Linked DNA regions of Homo sapiens: region 2 is linked to region 1. Evidence: promoter capture Hi-C in 16 types of primary human blood cells and fetal thymus (Javierre and others, 2016). All regions are on one chromosome and are shown on one strand. Each heading gives the region's core, a stretch centred on a gene start or on the middle of the fragment in contact. The rest is flanking DNA. Distances are from core to core; before and after follow the strand shown. Region 1 holds the start of DEDD (death effector domain containing). Region 2 overlaps CD48 (CD48 molecule).

Region 1 (6,057 bases), core at 3,059-5,558:
TTGTAGTGCAGTGGCAATAATCATAGCTCACTGCAGCCTCAAACTCCTGGGCTCAAGTGATCCTCCAAACCCAGCCTTCAGCACCTATTAACCTCTTTTTGTGCCAACTCTTACTATCATCCTGGGAGGTTTTACAAAAACCCATGAAAAATACAGTTAGTTCCTGACCTCCAACTCCAACGAATACTCCCACTTTCAATTCCTTAATTTCACCATTTCTAGAAAAACAGGTTTTTGTTGATGGCAGCTTCAGGGCCATAGTAAGGACTGGGAGAGGGTAGCATTCTTCTTCTTTTTTTTTGAAACAGGGTCTCGCTATGTCACTCAGGTTGGAGTGCAATGGTGCCATCAGGACTCACTGCAACCTCAAACTCCTCAGTCTCAGGTGATCCTCCCACCTCAGCCTCCCAAATAGCTGGGACTACAGGCAAGTGCACACCCACCTAATTAAAAAAAAATTTTGTAGAAATGGGGTCTCTCACTATGTTGCCCAGGCTGATCTTGAACTCCTGGCCAAAGTATTGGGATTACAGGTGTGAGCCACCACACCCAGCCAGGGTATCATTATTAAGTGTAGTAAGATTGATGGTGCCAGCACTGGCTGGTGTTGACTTGAAGACTCACTGAAAGACTGGGACTGGCAGCCATGATGCATAAGGGCAGAATAGCCTGGGGGTTGTACTGCCCAGTGATACTTGGGGAAAGGTTCAAGATCTGGATTTGACTCTTGTGCCAAGCTTCCAAGAAACCTAGGTTCAGAGGTAAGAGCACCTTTCCTATCAGCTGCCTCTGTGGGGACATCTGACACTTTCAACATCCACCCCCTTGAAATACTCTTCCCTTTGATTCTGTGACAATTATCTCCCAGGTTTTCTTCTTCTTCACTCGCTGTTCCTTTTCAAAGATTCTCCAAGAGCTCTTTTTCTACTTGTGCCTTAAATGTTGGAATTTCCGAGAGCACTCTTCTTAGCCCTCTGCTCTTTTCTGGGGAGCTTATCCAAATCTATGGCTTCAACTACCACCGAAATGTTGATGTTTCAGAATTTCTGGCCTATATATCACAGGGCTTTCTAAAAAGTAGTTTTCTGGCCAGGTACCATGGCTCACGCCTGTAATCCCAGCACTTTAGGAGGCCGAGGAGAGTGGATCACGAGGTCAAGAGTTTGAGACCAGCCTGGCCAACATAACGAAACCCCGTCTCTACTAAAAATACAAAAAATTAGCCAGGCATGGTGGCGTGCACCTGTAGTCCCAGCTACTCAAGAGGCTGAGGCAGGAGAATTGCTTGAACCTGGGAATCAGAGGTTGCAATGAGCTGAGATGTGCCACTGCACTCCAGCCTGGGTGACAGAGCGAGACTGTCTCAAAAAAGAAAAAAAAAAAGTAGCTTTCTGTAAAATAATATGTGCATAATAAAATAATTTCAAGCAATAAAGATAGATGTAAAATGAAAAGTATAAGTCTTATCCCTCCTAGGCCCACTCTTCATAATTTTTTAATGCATGTGTAAATGTGTCATATTTATTCTGTGCTTGCTTTTTTTCTCCACTTATATTTTTCTCTTAAGTTTTAGATCTGTGTATTAAACATGCCACTAGGACATATCTATCTAGCTATCTCACAGGTACCTAAAACTTCTTCACCTTCTTTGGAATTCTCCCTCCTGCAACACCCTACCACTAGTCTCCTTTTTACATCAACACCATGAAAAAACTGTCTTTATACGTTGTGCCTTCTCAATTCAATCTGGTTTCTATCCACCATAACTACAAAACAGCTTTCTCCAAATTTCCTAAATGACCTCCTTGTTGCAGTATCTTTTTTGGGGGGACAGAGTCTCACTGGAGTGCAATTGTGCAATTTCGGCTCACTGTACCTCCGCCTCCTGGGTTCAAGCGATTCTCCCACCTCAGCCTCCCAAGTAGCTGGGATTACAGGTGCCCGACACCATGTCTGGCTAATTTGTGTATTTTTAGTAGAGATGGGAGTTCCACCATGTTGTCCAGGCTGGTCTCGAACTCCTGACCTCAGGTGATCGGCCCACCTCGGTCCCCAAAGTGCTGGGATTACAGGTGTGAGCTACCACACCTGGCCTTTTTATTTATTTGTTTTATTTACAAAAAAACCAAAGTCTTGTTCTGTTGCCGAGAGTGCAGTGGTGCAATCTTGACTCACTGCAACCTCCGCCTCCTGGGTTCAAGTGATTATCATGTTTCAGCCTCTGGAGTACCTGCGATCACAGGTGCGCACCACCATGCCCAGCTAATTTTTGTATTTTTTGTAAAGATGGGGTCTTGCCATGTTGACCACACTGGTCTCCAGCTCCTGGTCTTAAGTGATTCACCTGCCTAGGCTTCCCAAAGTGCTGGGATTACAGGTGTGAGCCACTGTGCCTGGCCCTTGTTGCAATATCTGATAGATACATTTTATTTACTTTATTTTATTTTTTTGGAGACAGAGTCTCACTCTGTCACCCAGGCTGGAGTGCAGTGGCACGACCTCAGCTCACTGCAACCTCTGCCTCCTGGGTTCAAGCGATTCTTGTGCCTCAGCCTCCCCAGTAGCTGGGACTACAGGCGCGCACTGCCATGCCTGGCTGATTTTTGTATTTTTAGTAGAGACGGGGTTTCACCATGTTGACCAGGCTGGTCTCCAGCTCCTGACATCAGGTGATCTGCCCGCCATGGCCTCCCAAAGTGCTGGGATTACAGGAGTGAGCCACAGCACCCGGCCTATTTATTTCATTTTTTTTGAGACAGGGTCTTGCTCTGGTGCCCAGGCTGAAATGCAGTGGCGCGATCTCGGCTCACTGCAACCTCTGCCTCCTGGGTTCAAGCAATTCTCATGCTTCAGCCTCCCAAGTAGCTGGGATTACCGGCATGTGCAACCACACCCATCTAATTTTTTTTGTATTTTTAGAAGAGACAGGGTTTCACCATGTTGGTCAGGCTGGTCTCGAACTCCTGGCCTCAAGTGATCCACCCGCCTCGGCCTCCCAAAGCTAGGATTACAGGTGTGAGTCACCATGCCCGGCCCTGATGTATATATTTTAGTTAGCATTTTACTATATCTCTGTTACACTAAACGCTTTCACCAGTTTCCTTGATAGTTCTCTATGGTTTTCTTCTTTCCTTTCGGTTTGCCCCTTCTCAGTGTTCTTTTCGGCTTCCCTCATCCTATCCCGCAAATGCAGGTATCCTCTCCAGCCCACTTCATGGCTTCAACAGCTATCTATATGCACACGCACACACACCTCAAACCTTTCTTTTGAGTTCCCAACCCACATTAGCTAATATCCCAGGGGCACCTAAAACTCATTATCTCCCCCCTAAACGAGAAAGAAACTGGTATCATTATTCCCCAGTTGTCCAAGTCACAACATTCGTACCTCTTAAACCAATCTGTATCTCCCCATCCGCACTCTCCCTTCCACAGGCAGACCATCATCATCCTTGCCTGGAAAAGAGCCTCACAACTGCTCTCCTTGATTCTCCTCAATTCATTCATCCTTCACACTGCACGCAGCGATCTAAAATGCAAATGAAATTGTTCACACCTCTGCTGAGATTCTTCAAAGACTTTTCATTGCCTTAAGGATAAAAATCAATTAATTTACAAGGCTTCGCATAATCTGGTCTTCCCCTATCTATTACCACTTTCTTAAGCCACACCAGAACGTACCCGCACCATCCTCCCCACCCCCAATTCCCAACAGCCCTACACGGATCAGCTAGGCGACACTTCCTACAGGAAACCGGCGTTCAAAAGGTAAATGCTGAACAAATGAATTCCGAGACGGGATCTGGGCACCACTTTCGGCTCCGGATCCGGGTTTACGGAACGTCCGGGTTATCAGGAAGCTCAGAGGAAAGGTGAAATCCAGATCTTGACCCTTCACTCAAGTTCGCCAGACAAACCGATCCCCGTGGTATTCCGCCCTTATGAGTCATGGCTGCCAATCCCAGCCTTCCAGTGGGTCTTGAAGTCGCCACCAGCCAGCTGTGGCGCCACCAATGTTTCCCATTCAAGAATGCTATCCTCTTCGATCCCTTATTACCGCCCTAAGCAGCCGTCAAGACAAACCGGCGTTGCCAGCTTGCCCCAAAGCAAGATGGCTGCCAATCTCTATCTCTCCTCCCGAAGTGAAGCTATCCACTCCCCGATTAATGCCGCTGCCAGGCTGCCCTCACTTACTATGGCTACTCCGGCTCATGTCTCACTATGGCCTCGAAGCCGCCACTAACCGGCCGGGTTCCGGGAGGCGCCGTTCAGGATGCAGCCACCCCCGCCCGCCTGTCCCCTCCCCCACGGCCGCGGCGGCGGCGGCGGCGGCGGCTGCTGGAGCCCGGATGCGGCGCCGTGAGGCAGGCCCGGGAGAGCGGCGCGGATGGATCCAACATGGCGGCGCCGAGCCTGAGCCGAGAGTGAGGCGGAGGGGCGGCCGGAGTGGGGAGAGGGAGTCGAGCGGGACGGGGCGGGGCCGGGCGGGGCCGCAAAGGGCTTGGGGAAGGAAAGTGGAGGGGGAGGCGGTGGCGACGTCCAGCCTGAGAACCTCAAGAGAGGGAGGTGACGGGACGCTGAGAGGTGGGGGAGGGGAGCTGCCGAGGGGGGCGTGCAGGGGAGATGGCAACTGCGGGAGAGGGCAGGGGTCGAGACGGAGGAGTGAGGGCATGGGGAGGGGCGTAAACAAGGGCTGAGACTGGGCCCAGCCAGGGGTATTAGAGAGGCCGAGGTGGGGAGTGGGGCTGCGATCCGCTCGTATTGAAGGGGGTAGGAGCAGGAGGGAGAGGCTGAGGGTGTGAAGGGGAAGGGGGCTGTGGCATGTGGTTGGAGGGAGGACTGGACTCTGATGAGGGGTGTTGCGAGGAGGTGGGTAAAGGTCAGAATTGGAGTTAAGACGTTTCTGGGGGGCTTCGAAAGTGTTAAATTGGAGGTGGGAGGGGGAAGGGCCTAGGGGAGAATTTGGGTGGAAAAGGAGAGAACGGAGGCTTGGGGAATGGAGAGAGTGTCGGTGGGAGGAGGTAATGGAGAAAGTGAGAGACTGGGAGGAAGAAAGTTTGGGAGGAAGGGGAGTGGAATGGGAGATAGGACAGTGGAGCTGCACGGGTGATAGAGGTTCGGGGGTTTCCCTTTCCCCGGTGGAGAGGAGGAGAGAACAGAGTTAAGCAGCATCAGTTGCAGCCAATTCTAATTGCCAGGCCCTTAGCTTTTAAGAGGGTGGGAAGGGCAGAAGGGAATGGTCATGTGGGTTTGCAGAATTGGGGTTGGATGAGAATTCAACTGGGTTTGTTTTCCAAAAGACTCCCTAGCTTACTGTTCCCTTGTTTTTCCTGCTTGGGAAAATGGGGAAGCCGGTGTCGCCCAAGTGTGGAGGAGCAAAGGACTTTTCTAGTTTTTAGCATTAGCAATACAAGAGTGGGGGAGCAGACATGGCTATATTGGAACCCTATATGCTAAGGTGGAGGCTCTGGAAGTCTGAGGAGGGAAAGAGAAAAGATAGAGTGGCATCTAGACAGGTTAATTAAATGAGTGCTGTAGTTTCCAGACCCTTTTGCTGTTTTAAGTCTGGAAGGGAGGGGGTAACATGGATACTGTATGTAGAAAAACTTTTCCCTGGTGAAACATAGACGTATGAGTGGATGCTGCGCCATTAGATATTTTGTTCTCATTGTGTGCTAGTTAAGGGAAAGGGCCAAATGTAGAATTTGGAGGATAGTGCTGGTCTGCTGTAACCACTTTCCTCCCAGTTTTTTCTAAAGGTGAAAGTTAACGTTAATATTGTAACAAAATAGGAATAAGGAATTGTGGAGGAAGATGAGAAGCTGCCAGAGGGTAATTGGTTTTCCCAGAAGTTCTTAAATTTGGGAGCTGTCTTGCCGCAAGCCATTGAGACTGGAAATTCTTGGAGTTGGTATTGTTTTTGTAAATTGACTAATAGAGAGTTAGGGAAGCCTGGAGACTTGTTGGGGGTGAGTTCTCTAAATGGTTTTAGGCTTGTCTGTGTACTTTTGCAACGAGATTGTCTAATTCTATGGGCCTCTGAGGTTTCAAAGTAAA
Region 2 (6,721 bases), core at 236-2,735, 450 kb after region 1:
AGGTCAAGGCTGCTCACTGGCTCCCTCTGTAGAACTTCTTCTTCATGACTCTGCCTCCTGGGGCATTCAGGCCCCTTCCCTGGATCCCTTTGTTCTTTGTTGGCTAAACCTTCACAGCATGAATGCCTCACTGTCTCATCTTATAACATCCTCCTCACTTTCAGACCCTGTACCCAAGCCTGTCATCAAAATTGAGAAGATAGAAGACATGGATGACAACTGTTATCTGAAACTGTCATGTGTGATACCTGGCGAGTCTGTAAACTACACCTGGTATGGGGACAAAAGGCCCTTCCCAAAGGAGCTCCAGAACAGTGTGCTTGAAACCACCCTTATGCCACATAATTACTCCAGGTGTTATACTTGCCAAGTCAGCAATTCTGTGAGCAGCAAGAATGGCACGGTCTGCCTCAGTCCACCCTGTACCCTGGGTAAGAAGGATCCCTGGGAGCTGAGGGGGGCACAGGGTAACTGGAGTTGTTTTGAACAAAGAAAGGCTGGGGGTCCTATTCAGCCTCCTTGCACAGTGTGGTGGTGAATCCCTAAGGTGTCTGGGAGAGCTGGGAGACGTGGGTTCTGCCACCAGCTCTACCACCACCTCCCAGCCAGCTTACCTCAACTTCGTGGGGGCTCAGTGTTCTCACCTGCAAAGGACGTTTGGGAGAGATCTCTGATACTCCTCTTCCCTCTCCCGCTCTAACAAAGCATAGTCCTAACATCTGAGGCCAGGGTCATCATAGAGTAGACTGAAACATCAGGGTGAGCAGGGAGAAGGAAGGGCAAGTGGGCGAGCAGCTGTCTAGAGGGGCTTCATTAGACAGCCGAAGTCAGCCAAGGAAAGAGGGACCGAGGTCATTAGACCGCCAAAGTCAGCCAGGGAAAGAGGGACTGAGGAGACGGGCCTGAGAGAGGCCGTCGAGGAGGCGTGAGAGCCTGAGCCTCAGGCGAAGCTTCTCCTCCCCAGCCTGATGTTCCTAGATGAACTTAGGAAGCCAGATTCCCCTGTCTCCTGGGAGGATCCACTCATGAGTGTCACACCTGGCTCTAGATCAGGCCTACACTGGTGCTAGCATGGGACAGCTAAGGCCATGGGTTTTAGAGTCAGTCATACCTGGGGTCACTTCTAGGACTGTCACTTACTAGCTAAACAAGTTACTTAGCTTCCCCAAGTCATGTTCTTCCTAAATAAAGGACAAAATAACAGTTCCTATCTCGTGCTAAGGATTCAATGAGACAAGACACGTAACTGCCTATCACAGTGGCTGACAAGTCCTTAGTAAGCGGGAGCTAAATGAGACGCAGTCTCTTAGAGTTTTGGGGACCCTTAATAAACTTGGATCAATATCTCCAGCACTCTGGGAAATACCAGAGTCAGATACCCTCCACAATCCTGAAGTCAGATCCCTGAGCCCTAGCGTACACATTCTTCTAGAATAACTCAGACCTGAGGTGCTCACATTCACCTGTGACCCCTGTCATGCCCAGTCATCAGGGATTCTGGCCTCTGAGAACGTTGCTGTTTTGTGGTCTTCCTGGGCTCTGTCTACCCTCCTTAACTGCACTGATTTCTTTATCTCTACTCCCACATGTGGACTACGGAGACTGTGTATGCTCTTCCTTATTCTTCCTAACTAATTGGCCCTGTCTCTACCAGCCTCTCCTGATATGCCTTGCTCTTCTGCCACCACAGACCCACTGTGACAGTGTGGTATCTGACCATGAGAACACAATTTGGCTGGTGGTTCCAACACCACCCTCATATCAATATCACATCCTGAGATCCAGAAAAAGGAAGACGCACATTCCCTGTCCTCTATAAAATGGGTGTGACTGTTCATCCGAAGAGAGGATAAAAGCAATAATAAATCCATTTTTTTTGGAAGGGTAAACCCATCTGTCACTTTTTAGTCACCGAAATTATCCTAGAAAGCCCCCTCAAACTCCTTTCCCTACTGTATCACTCATTCCTTTTTTTTATTTTCTCCAGCTCAGCCCTTCCCCACCCCAGCATCTAAGCTTTCCTTCCATCCTTTTTCTTTTCCTTTCCTTTTCTGTCTTCCTTTCTCTTCCCTTCTTCTTCCTAGTTGGTGCAGATACTTAGTGGGGTAGAGAAACAAGGAAAGGAAGTGGTCCTTTTCTCTCTAAAGTCAGCTGTGCATTGTATCATGTGGTCATCTGTCTGTACCTGAAGATCTACCCTACCTCGTTGATGTCCAGAGTAGGGGAGCAATGCTTTCCCAGGCCACAGATATGTCGAGGTAACCTTTGAGCACAGGGCCCAGGTAAGCCAGTGATATTTAAGGAATTTCTGCATTTTTTATACTTTATGTTTGGGGAGATTGAGGAAAAGAATGTCCCAGCCAAATAGGATGGGATTCAGGGAAGAAATTAATTTCCCTGCTCTGTGAGCTCCCACACCAGTGTCCAGTACACTTGCCCCTTCTCAATACATTAGTCAAGATAAAGATACCTAAGCATATAGGGTTTTCTTGCTCTTTCAGCCCGGTCCTTTGGAGTAGAATGGATTGCAAGTTGGCTAGTGGTCACGGTGCCCACCATTCTTGGCCTGTTACTTACCTGAGATGAGCTCTTTTAACTCAAGCGAAACTTCAAGGCCAGAAGATCTTGCCTGTTGGTGATCATGCTCCTCACCAGGACAGAGACTGTATAGGCTGACCAGAAGCATGCTGCTGAATTATCAACGAGGATTTTCAAGTTAACTTTTAAATACTGGTTATTATTTAATTTTATATCCCTTTGTTGTTTTCTAGTACACAGAGATATAGAGATACACATGCTTTTTTCCCACCCAAAATTGTGACAACATTATGTGAATGTTTTATTATTTTTTAAAATAAACATTTGATATAATTGTCAATTAACTGAATTCCTGAAGTTGTCCCAAATCTGTCAGACAGTGCCTGCTCCATCAGCTGGGAGAAACTGGAATCTGGAGACACAGAGGGGAGAGCCTGGAGCCACCGGCTCCTGTGTGTCAACACAGCTGAGGAGCCAATTTGTGCTACTTCTGACCCTTATTCCAACATCCATGCTAAGCTTCCTGGGGCTCCAGCTCCCCTGCCAAGCCTTTGCCTCCTTCCCAGTGGCTTGCCTTGCTCTGACCCCTCTGAGGACCACTCTCCTTAAGTCTGCTGCAAACATAGGTTCAGGCTTGCTCTCGCAGAAGGAAGGATGCAGCTCTATCTCATAAGAAGCCTTCCTGCCCCACAAGCCTCGCATAGGGAGCTGAATTCTCTCTCCTCTTTTCCATTGACTGTGTGGGCAAGTCTTCAACTCCTAGTCGTTTCACTGGATCCAAAAAAACCATCAGATCGACACAGTGTTCTCACCAGAGTTGTCCACTATATGCAGGTAGGCGCCCCCAGGCCCACCACTGACATAACACCTGGGATTTTTGCTTAATGTCCCCTCCTCTAAGTCTCCTCATGTGCCTGGAGCTGAAAGGGTCACTACAGAATGCACTTCCCCTTCAGAAAACTGCCCACCACAGACTGCTTGCCTTTCAAACCAGACCAGCCTCCCCCATCTCCCTCGTGGCCCTTCCCTCCTCACCCCATCTCCTCGGTGACAGATACAGTGCTATGTGTTTGCCAAACCTTCTCATTTTCCCCTGGGTGAGTGAAAAAACTCTTTTTCCCAGCTACTTTTGTGTTTAGCTGGAGCCATGTGATGAAATCTGTCCAATAGAAAGTGGGCGGCATGGATGTGGCAGGAGTGAAGGACTTCGGAAGTCTGGCTATATGATGCAAGGAACTGCATCGGAGCCATTGTTTGGAAGGCAGCTGCCTGCCCTACATTGCACAAGCATGATAAGAAAGGTAGGGTTTTGTCTTTTCCACAAGACAGCCTGGGCTTCCGAAGAAACCCCCCACCCTGAGCCCAGCCTGTAGTCCCATCCAAAATCACCTCTGAGCAGCCTGCATCCCCATCCAAACTCACTTCTGAGCAGTCTGCATCCCATCCGAACTCACCCCTGAGCAGCCTGCATCCCTATCCAAACTCACCTCTGAGCAGCCTGCATCCCCATCTGAACTCACCTCTGAGCAGCCTGCATCCCCATCTGAACTCACCCCTAAGCAGCCTGCATCCCCATCCGAACTCACCTCTGAGCAGCCTGCATCCCCATCTGAACTCACCCCTAAGCAGCCTGCATCCCCATCCAAACTCACCCCCGAGCAGCCTGCATCCCATCCAAACTCACCTCTGAGCAGCCTGCATCCCCATCTGAACTCATCTCTGAGCAGCCTGCAGTTCCATCCAAACTCACCTCTGAGTATCCTGCATCCTACAGGTGGACCATTTCCATCCCCTTTCTGTAAGCAGCACCCTTTTCCTTCCCCTCACTTTTCTCAGTGGAAGAAGAGGGTTTTGGGGGGAATTTCACGCGCACACACACACACACACACACACACACATATACACACACGCGCGAGCGCGAATGGGATAAACAAGCAGTAAGAAGGAAACAAATGCCACTTTCTGTCACAAATAAGCACATTCCTCAGCTGCTGAGGAACCAGCGTGCCTCTGCGGACATTGTATTTGTATTATTTCCAGTTACTGGAAACCTGAGGTAAATCTCACCTTAGACGGCTCAGGTCACAGACACCAACGGTTCCCTGCTCCTCCCATCCCTCAAGGCAGTGCCAGATACATAATTTGTGGGGCTCAGTGCAAAATGAAAATGTTGGCTCCCCTTGCTCAAAAAGCAAGGAAAATGTGCCAATAAAAGTACTGAAATATTAAGCCTTTTCTTTTCTTCCACAGTCTCTCTACTTGAGATGGTATTTTTTTATTTGCTTGCTATTTAATGCTGTTCTAAGTAAAGGCAAATTAAAAACTTAAATTATCATGAATTTTACTTTCTATATTTTAAAACATTAGTTTTAAATGAAAATAGAATATTTAATTCATATTTGGGATCATTGCAATTACTCAATTTCTATTTCGTGGCTCATGCATGCATATATATTTTGTTCTTATTGGAAGTGTGAAAACGCTGCGAAAACCCAACTTAACTTTTTTATTTTACTTCTTGTTGCATACACATTCTCCCAACACTCTGTGAAAGCCAGTGGCTCCCATAACGTGACCACTTTGCACTTACTTTGAGTTTCACTGAACTCCCACATATTTTGGGTAGGTCCGCTGGAGTGCTGTGCTCATGGGATATGAAAAAGGGTAACAAGGAATGGTGGCAGACATGCAGATTACATGTATCTTCCCTTCTCACCTGCATGCTTAAGCAGAAGCTGAAAGAGAAAATTATCAAGAATTTCCAGATAGTGTCAGCAGCAGCAGAGCACTAACCCAGGTTCAAGGCCCTTCTGACCTGGGGCCCCGTGTCACTGTACAGGTCACAAGCCCGTGAAGCCAAATTTACCTCAAGGACAACTAATATCTTACACCAAGACAACGGCCTTCTCTGGAAGTCACAAGGCCTGGTTCTTATGTTCCCCAGCCCCTCATATCTGTCTATGCATCAAAAGTTAGTAGAAGCTGGGCGCAATGGCATACACTGTAGTCCCAGCTACTCCCAGGGCTGAGGTAGGAAGATCACTTGAGGCCAGGAGGTGGAGGTTGCAGTGTGCTGTGATCATACCTGGGAAAAGCCACTGCCAGTCCTGCCTGGGAAACAAAGCAAGACCCTGTATCCTCAAAAAAAAAATAAATAAATAAAGGTTAGTGTGTTCCCTTATCAGTATACACAAGCCCATTTGTCTTTGTGCAAAGAGGATACTCCAGAATTAGCCTCAATTTCCAGTCATGAGTATACTCTTGTGAACTGAGGTGTCAGGATAAGTTGCTTCCCCTTGGCCTTCAGGCGGCTCAGGCAAGCTCCTGCACTGCCCTCTGCTGGCTCCAGCGCAGCAAGTTTAAGTAAAACTTAAAGCCTTGGATTAGGTCAGTGCTTCTCAAACTCTAACTTGCCAGCAAATCACCTGGGGATCTTGTGAAAATGCAGACTTTGAATCAGTAGGTCTGGGGTGGGAACCAGCTTGTCTCAACAGCCAGCATGAGGTTACACATGGAAGGTTGGCAAGGCCAGGAGCTCCTGTGGACTAAGAGAAAGTAACCCTCATATCTGGCTTTGCACAAATAAGCAGCTTGGATTGGGCCCTTGTGTTGGGACCAGGTAGGGGTACATATAAATAGACCTGGCCCCTCAGATCAGTGAGTTCATTCATTTACCACCTATATTTACCAAGTGCTTACCTATGCTAGGGGTCCCATGCTGGAAGCCACTTAGTAAGAACAAACACTGACTACCACGTATGCCCTAGGCTCTGTGCTGAGCTCATTACCTGAAAGGCTTTCTTTTTTTTTGAGGAGTGTTGCTCTGTCACCCAGGCTGGAGTGCAGTGGCGCGATCTCGGCTCACTGCAAGCTCCGCCTCCCAGGTTCATGCCATTCTCCTGCCTCACCCTCCCGAGTAACTGGGACTACAGGCGCCTGCCACCACGCCCAGCTAAATTTTTTGGCATTTTTTTAGTAGAGACAGGGTTTCACCGTGTTAGCCAGGATGGTCTCGATCTCCTGACCTCATGATCCGCCCATCTCGGCCTCCCAAAGTGCTGGGATTACAAGCGTGAGCCACTGTGCCCGGCCATGGCTTTCTTTAAGGAACAGGGCTGTGGGTTGTTTAGAGTGGAAGTGTTTCCAAAAGTCTTCATTGAGGATTTGGACTTTAAATGGTTTT

The links. Contacts are between HindIII fragments. The CHiCAGO score rates a contact against its expected background, and 5 or more counts as called.
Region 2: a contact is called between a fragment that was not itself captured here and the fragment with the promoter of DEDD in region 1, in 7 of 17 cell types (megakaryocytes, erythroblasts, neutrophils and 4 more). The highest score is 9.1, in megakaryocytes.

Annotation. Positions count from the first base shown.
Region 1 is chr1:161,130,918-161,136,974 of GRCh38, reverse strand. It overlaps DEDD (death effector domain containing), which reads left to right and starts at 4,308. Exons shown (of 6, transcript NM_032998.3): 1 at 4,308-4,424. LOC112543491 (linc-UFC1) reads right to left here and starts at 1,825. Exons shown (of 1, transcript NR_156734.1): 1 at 1-1,825. RefSeq lists enhancers at 3,844-4,153, 4,615-5,438 and silencers at 4,174-4,523, 4,574-4,793. The HindIII fragment of the contact is 8,185 bases long and covers 740-6,057 here.
Region 2 is chr1:160,674,912-160,681,632 of GRCh38, reverse strand. CD48 (CD48 molecule) reads left to right here. Exons shown (of 4, transcript NM_001778.4): 3 at 165-431; 4 at 2,502-2,887. The coding sequence ends at 2,581. Among named protein-coding and RNA genes, the nearest start is that of SLAMF1, 31 kb to the right of the region's middle. RefSeq lists an enhancer at 110-199. The HindIII fragment of the contact is 1,066 bases long and covers 953-2,018 here.